2 separate regions of the Homo sapiens genome follow, and region 1 is linked to region 2. Evidence: promoter capture Hi-C in human tissues and cell types (Jung and others, 2019). All regions are on one chromosome and are shown on one strand. The core of a region is centred on a gene start or on the middle of the fragment in contact, and the rest is flanking DNA. Distances in the headings are between cores, read along the strand shown. Region 1 overlaps TMEM45A (transmembrane protein 45A). Region 2 holds the start of TMEM45A (transmembrane protein 45A).

Region 1 (4,007 bases), core at 1,469-3,968, 57 kb after region 2:
TGCTCTGTTGCCCAGGCTGGAGTGCAGTGGTACGATCTTGGCTCACTGCAACCTCCGCCTTCCAGGTTCAAGGGATTTTCCTGCCTCAGCCTCCTGAGTAGCTGGGATTACAGGTGTGTGTCATCACGCTGGGCTAATTTTTGTATTTTTAGTAGAGATGGGGTTTCAACATGTTGGTCAGGCTGGTCTCAAACTCCTGACCTCATGTTCTGCGTGCCTCAGCCTCCCAAAGTGCTGGGATTACAGGTGTAAGCCACTGCACCTGGCCTATGTACTGTATTCTTACAATAAAGTAAGCTAGAGAAAAGAAAATGTTATGAAGAAAATCATAAGGAAGATAAAATATATTTACTATTCATTAAGTGGAAGTGGATCATCATAAAGGTCTTCATCCTTATCATCTTTATGTTGAATAGGCTGAGGAGGAGGAGGAGGAGGAGGAAAAGGAGGGGTTGATCTTTCTTGCTGACTTGGGGGTGGCAGAGGCAGAAGAAAACCCATGTATAAGTGAACCAACCCAGTTCAAGCCCATATTGTTCATGGGTCAACTGTATTTCCTTGAGTTGTTTTAATGATAAACAGATGTATGTATGTAAAGTTATTAGTATACAATAGGTGTTCAATGAGTGCCTTCCTTCCCATCACAGGTGCATCACTACTGACAAACAATCCAGACTTCTATTTACTTTGAAGAGTTAGTTACAAGCAGGTGATGCCATATGACATTTGTTCTTAGTTTTTGTTTTTGTGTTTTATTTTTAAAGACATAAGTTTTTGGATTGCCTCATCCTTTCTTATATTTCCAAGTTTAGGGTTCTTGTCATTTTAGATGTTTGGTTAAGAATAGCTGATGTTCCGTGGATGGTTTTAGTTATTTAAACATTGAGAGGGGTTGGTAGTGGGAACAATAGGCAGAGGTACAGGAGAGATCAAAATAAGATAAAATAAATAAGGTAATAGCACTCTAGAGTGGTTATTTTCTTCTGACAGAGCTTTATTATCATTCTGGCTTTGGGAGCAGCTGCTGAGACACTCATCTCTGGTCACATGCTAAGCCTAATATGAATGAACACATCCGGGCTTATGACACTGACAAGAGACAAATGGCCTCTGGAGTACAGAGATGGGGAAGTTGGATTTAAATCTCAGTATCTTGATGCTACTCTGTTTGTCTCCACATGCTCATTCAAATAGCATTCCTGTGTCTTGGCACTATCATCTGCAAAAAGAAGAGACACTCATCCTCTTATTTGGAAGGCTGGGCTTGCTAAGCTGAGAGTGAACGAGAAGCTCTCTTGCAGACCAGAGCTCTCACTTCTTTCTTGATTTCACCTAACTGCTTTCCACTGTTGAGAAGCTTCCTTTCCACTGTCCCCTGGTCACTGCGGGCTCCTCCTCTACAGCACTACTTTAGAACGATCTCCTCCATCAGGCACCTTCTTAGACAAAGTCCTCTCCCCGTCTTACACATGCCAGTCATCTTAACACCTCCATAGAACTTGTAATTAGTTTGTTCCTTAGGGACATATTTTAGCATTTCTGTTTTTTGTGGTTTGTTCAGTCTATCATAAGCTTTCTGTTGTGAGCAGGGGCTGTGTCTATTCTGCAGTGGGTGCCTCAAGCGCCTGAAGTGTCCCTGTACAATGCAAGTGATGATTAGAAGAGCATCCCAAATGCTTTGCGCTGCACTGTTGACCTACAGCAGTTTTCTTTCATCATTTTTCTTATTCCTATAACTTCGGTTTTGGCCATGACTTCAACCCTGTGGCGATCTCTTTCTTGAGGCACTGTGTGTTAGAAAATGGGTTATCTTTGGCCGGGCATGCTGGCTCATGCCTGTAATCCCAGCACTTTGGGAGGCCAAGGTGGGCGGATCACCTGAGGTCAGGAGTTCGAGACCAGCCTGGCCAACATGGTAAAACCCCATGTCTACTAAAAATACAAAAATTAGCTGGTATGGTGGCATGCGCCTGTAATACCAGCTACTCAGGAGGCTGAGGCAGGAGAATCACTTCAACCCGGGAGGTGGAGGTTGCAGTGAGCTGAGATTGCCCCACTGCACTCCAGCCTGGGCAACAGAGTGAGATCCTGTCTCAAAAAAAAACAAAAAAACAAAAAAACAAACAAAAAAACCACCAAAACCAAACAAACAAAAACAACCAAAACGAAAATGGATTATCTTCTTATGCCTTACAGAACACGATCTATTATGTTACTGCTGCTCTAACCATTCCCTTTGTCTTCTGTCTGTCTCCATGGCCTGCAAGAGTGGCAATATCCTTCACTGGCCTTGGTTCTCAGAGCAGGTGGCACATGACTGAGGCTAGTGGCCTGGTAGGTGGGATGGCAAGGTGAGTCACATCCAGAACTGCCCTCTGGCACAATGTTTGGACAGGGAGGCTGGAGGTTCCAAAGGGTGTGTTCTCTGGGTTTAAATGCATTGGAACCTAGTCTGAAGGTTTACCTGCTCATGCTAGAAAGATAGGAGCACATTGGTTTAATCTCAAAGGAGGAAGAGTGGGCAGTTTTAGATTTAGGGCCACTCAGCATCTGCTTTTCCCTCTTGAGTCTAGAGCCATTATAAATCCTTAAGAGTGTGATATTCCCCTTCCTGTGTCCATGTGATCTCATTGTTCAATTCCCACCTATGAGTGAGAATATGCGGTGTTTGGTTTTTTGTTCTTGCGATAGTTTACTGAGAATGATGGTTTCCAGTTTCATCCATGTCCCTACAAAGGACATGAACTCATCATTTTTTATGGCTGCATAGTATTCCATGGTGTATATGTGCCACATTTTCTTAATCCAGTCTATCGTTGTTGGACATTTGGGTTGGTTCCAAGTCTTTGCTATTGTGAATAATGCCACAATAAACACACTCTGGGGACTGTGGTGGGGTGGGGGGAGGGGGGAGGGATAGCATTGGGAGATATACCTAATGCTAGATGACGAGTTAGTGGGTGCAGCGCACCAGCATGGCACATGTATACATATGTAACTAACCTGCACAATGTGCACATGTACCCTAAAACTTAAAGCATAATAAAAAAAAAAAAGAAAAAAAAATAAATCCTTAATAGAAGAGAATTGAGTTGGACTTGACATTGAGGAAAGTGTGAAGGTAAGGATACTTTAAGAAGACTCATTCAAAACCAATGAAATTTGCAGGAGAAAGTGCTGGTACAGAATGATGGAGAATGAAATTTTAAAGCTACATATTTTTGTATCCACATAGTATGTGGATACAATTTGAGTATTAAGACAAACAGAGCAAAGCTGTTCAGATTTGTTTAGTGTATTGGAATTTACAAATGTATTTTGAAGTATGAGTCACTAATGAAGACTTAGGAATACTTCATTTTGGTGGTGGCGCAAGATGAAATTTTAAGTTTTTTCTCATAATGGTATTCATTTTATATTGAATTTAGCTATTCGATTAGAATTCCACCAAGCAAACCATTGCATCTCTTTTTCTGGGTTATTGTGAGTTGTTTTCCCTTTCTGTGTATAGACCTAGTCTGTGGTTTGTGTGGCTGTTAACATCTGGGAATTAACACCTAGCACCTGAGTTAGATCTTGGGCTCTGCCCAATATTATCTCTTAAGGGATAGAGTTTTAAAATGTTTCCCTTCTGCATGGTGAGTGAGTCTGTGTTTACGCCGGGGGGTGTTCAGCAAAAAGTAGGGTAATGGGGATACCAGGAGGGGTTTCTGGTTTTCAGGCCAGAGGGTAATGCTTGGTATCATTAGAAGTGGAGGGCTTCTTTGGATGGGGGAGGAGGAAGAATTTTTAGGATGAATCACACTGGAAACCAATGATGAAATCTTTCAGTCCGTCTTTTTAGGCCTGGGTGAACTGCTTTTTTTTTTTTTTTTTTTTTGAGACGGAGTCTCCCTCTGTCGCCCAGGCTGGAGTGCAGTGGCGGGATCTCGGCTGACTGCAAGCTCCGCCTCCCGGGTTCACGCCATTCTCCTGCCTCAGCCTCCCTAGTAGCTGGGACTACAGGT
Region 2 (3,888 bases), core at 1,385-3,884:
CTGGGCTCAAAGGATTCGCTGGACTTGGTCTCCCAAAGTGCTGGGATTACAGGCATGAGGCACCACGCCTGGGTTGATTGACTTTAGAATTTTGATTTTGCATCCCTGAAAAAAACTCCACTATGTTGTGGTGTATAATTATTTTTATATATTGCTGAATTCTGTTTGGTAATACGTTGTTAAAGATTTCTGCATCTTCACCTTGTTACAGCCTGGAAAAGGCGGGAGTCTAGGATTTCTACTCAGCCTCTGTTCATGTAGGAGTGAGTGGGGCCAGGGTTTTTCCTGTGGTGTTTGGCTGAAGTAGAGCCATTACTGCCTAAAAGTTTTTCTGTCTTTCTAGGCTTCCCATTTCCTGGTCCTTGACTAGAGAGAGCAGGGTTCGTTGAGACTTTTTTGTCTGTGCCTGTTGTCATTTTTGGGTTGCTGGCTTCTTCAGCTCCAAGTTTGGGGCAAAGAAACAACAGAAAGCAAGCCCAGGGAACTCAGCATCATGTCATTCCTTGGGTTCTGAGATTTCTAGCTCATCTGTCTTCTTCTCTCAACCTCTTGGAGTTTCCAATGTTGGAAAATATATGAAGTCCAGGATTTTTTGTTGTGCTTAGCAGGAGAAATGGAATACTGATGTCCACTCCATCTTCCTGAGAGCAGAAGGATTCTTTTTTTTTTTTTTTTTTTTTTTTTTTAGTGATTTTTGGTCAATATCAGATGCCTGTTGATGGTAATGAGTGTGGAGGGTTAATCAATACCTTGACTATCAGCCCACTGTTGAGCGGCTTCTGTGATAAAAAGTGCAGCATTGTGAGATTACAAATGATTCAGAAAGCTGAACACATGACACATTACTTTCAAGGGCTACATTCAAATGTTGCTCCTTTGTGGGTTTCCTTGACTGCCAGAAGGATTGGAGTGTTGTGGTTGCACTCATGTAGTGCCACTTTACTTGCTGAGCAGGCTCCTGCATTTGTGGGGGTCTTACAGAGTTATGATAACATTGCAGTCAGGTCCATTGAAATTGAGGTGTCTGACTATCCAATTGTGGCAGACAGACTTGTAGGTGGCCCCTGTGATCTCTATTCTCTGGCTTTTCAGAACCGTGGATGGCCATTGGGAGCCTAAGAGCAGTCTTTCGGAGCTAAGGGCAGCCTCTAGCTCACATCTAGAAAGAAACTGGGGAGTCAGTCCTAGAGCTGCAAAGAAATGAATTCTGTCAATGACCTGAGAAAGCTTGGAAATGATTCTTCTCCAGTAGAGCCTGCAGATGACAATGCAGCCCGGCTGACACCTTGATTGCACCCTTGTGAGAGCATAAGCAGAGGATCTAGTTTGGCCATGCCTGGACTTCCAACCTTCAGAAACTGTGCAGTGATATACATGTGTTGTACAAAGCACTAAGTTTGTGGGAATCTGTTGCGCAGCAATAGATGACAAATACACCAACAAACAAGACATTATCATTGTAGTGAAAGCTTTGGACACTCATAATAAATTCTGACCCCTGCAGGGATGGCAAATTGCAGATGAGTTTATGTATCTATGATGGAGTGCTGCAAACATATGTTTGGAGACATCTGTGGTAGGCTGGGATAGGTGCTGGGTCTTGGAGATTATTTTAATATCTATTTTATAAGGTAGTTGTAAGAATTAAATGTGATAATGCAGGTAAAAACTGTTTAATGCGGGGTCTGGTGCCTTCCCTGGCGTGCAGCCCAGTGAGTGTGGCTCTTGCCCACTTAATATTTCAATGAGGGAACGGTTCTGTCAATATGCACAAATTATAATGGCAATTGATTTGCAGATCTCTTCTTTCCTCCTCTCCTTCTAACTCACTAATCAAAAAACTGGTTAACCCTCCAACTGCTTTCCCAAGTTCAAAGCAACGTTTGGCGCAGTCCTTTCTCAATTCTCACACAACAAAGCAGTATTTCTCGGTTCCCTACAACGACCATCACTCAATACAAAAAACCAAGCAGGTCTGCCAAACCACTCTCATACCCAGTCCTGGTCATCTCCGCAGGAACAACTTCAATTCTGGTTAATAAGGACTTCAACGAAGGGTTCATTAAGGTTTTCCCTCCACCGAAAGAAAGAATACCGTCCCCAGGGAGCAGGCTCTTGGGCCCTATTATTTGCTCCCTGGAGAAAGTGAAGAGAGAGGAATCCCAAGGCGTGGCCTGAACGCCCTTTGGGGGCGTGGGCAGCCCGGAGCCCCAGCCTCTTCCACTCCAAGCACCAGGCGCGTCTTATTTTCAGCCCCCAAACGGCTACAAATCATCCGCCTTATTTTCAGCCTCCAAACGGCTACAAATCATCCTGTTTAAACAAAGCGGTCTGTCTAAAAGGAGGGGCATAACAGGGCCGGGGCAGGGGCAAGACCTGGGAGTAGGCAACCTCCCTCTCTGCCCCGAGCCGTCCCGGCCGCGCAGCCGCCGAGTGCCACATCAGCGACGGCGCTGCACTTCCACATTCCCTTAGGATGCAGCCAGCGGGCCTGAGAGAGGGGCGGGCCCGAGGCCCTCCGGAGTGGCGGGCCGCCCGGCCAATCGGCAGCAAGTGAAGAGCTGCGGCCACCAATGAGCTGGGGCTTGTGCCAGCCGCGGCCGCCGAGGCCCGTGCCCCGCGGGGGGAACAGATGAAGCACATCTGGACAGCTGTGCGGCCTCCTCGCGGGCCGACGTCAGCCGAGCACGTCCCCCACGTCCTCTCCTTCTCGCCACTTATTATTTATTCGTTTTCCCAAAGAAGCGACTAGGGACCCAAGTTTAAAAATTCCTCCCCCCACCCAATGCGAGACGTGGCCAGATCCCATCCAACACACGGTTTAATTTTCATGGGGCTCTGGGATCAAAAGAACAGAAACAGCAACAACAAAAGCCCAGCCGCTGTCTGATTTTAAGCTGGCAAAGTGGGAAAAATAAAGTGTTGAGTAAACAGACCAAGTTGGGTAAGTTTTGGATACGTGCTGGATATCATATTTCTCTTGCCGTGATCTCTATCCTGTGTCTTTTTACTGTTCTCACCAGCTTTCTCTTCATCAAGGGGAGAAAAGTAACACTTGCTGCGACAAACTGGACCCTTCGCTCCCTTCTCTTCCGTTTCACTAACATTTTAATTTAATTTTTTTGGTTTGCTATTCTTTTTTTTTTTTTTTTTTTTTTGGTGAGCTAGTTTTAAATATCCTGGGAGCAGCAATGTGACTGATATTCTGTTGTAAACCTCTAACTCCAAAATTGAATCTATTGATAAATTTATTTCTCTATTTTCTTTCTGTGAAAATACTGTGGGTATTTGTAAAGCCAAAATCGTTTTTTATCCCCAACTCTGGGACTGTTTTGATGGGAGATTGAGAAAATTATCTGATCTTTTCAGAATTAACACGTTTGCTTCTGTTAATAGGATGTCTAATATAAATTACGTAAAACCTGGGTTATGCAGGTAGTTGCTGGATTTTTCACTTAAATCTGGAGGTAGTTGCAAGCCAAATATATATCTTTTCGGTATTCTCCTATCCATAGTGGGAGACCTGAATTCCTTTATAATTGTTAAAAACAAACAAACATGTGACAGACCACTTGTGTGTTCATAAACTTATAATTGTATATATATACTATATAGTATATATGCACTATATAGTATGGTATATATACTATATACATGCTATGTATACACTATGCTATATGGTGTATATGCTCTATGTATGCTATATAGTATACTCTATATACGCTATATATTTTGTTGTTGTTGTAGTTTGTTTGTTTGTTTTTGAGACAGAGTCTCACTCTTGTCGCCAAGGCTGGAGTGCAATGGCACGATCTCGGCTTACTGGAACCTCTGCCTCCCGGGTTCAAGTGATTCTCCTGACTCAGCCTCCCAAGTAGCTGGGATTAC

Evidence for each region. Contacts are between HindIII fragments. The study calls those that stand out against the background at their distance.
Region 1: a contact is called between a fragment that was not itself captured here and the fragment with the promoter of TMEM45A in region 2, in 1 of the 25 tissues and cell types used here (pancreas).

What each region holds. Positions count from the first base shown.
Region 1 is chr3:100,547,152-100,551,158 of GRCh38, forward strand. All of the region lies in intron 1 of TMEM45A (transmembrane protein 45A), which reads left to right. Among named protein-coding and RNA genes, the nearest start is that of TMEM45A, 57 kb to the left of the region's middle. The HindIII fragment of the contact is 4,559 bases long and covers 440-4,007 here.
Region 2 is chr3:100,489,985-100,493,872 of GRCh38, forward strand. TMEM45A (transmembrane protein 45A) reads left to right here and starts at 2,635. Exons shown (of 6, transcript NM_018004.3): 1 at 2,635-2,944. RefSeq lists a silencer at 2,353-2,652. The HindIII fragment of the contact is 8,963 bases long and covers 1-3,888 here.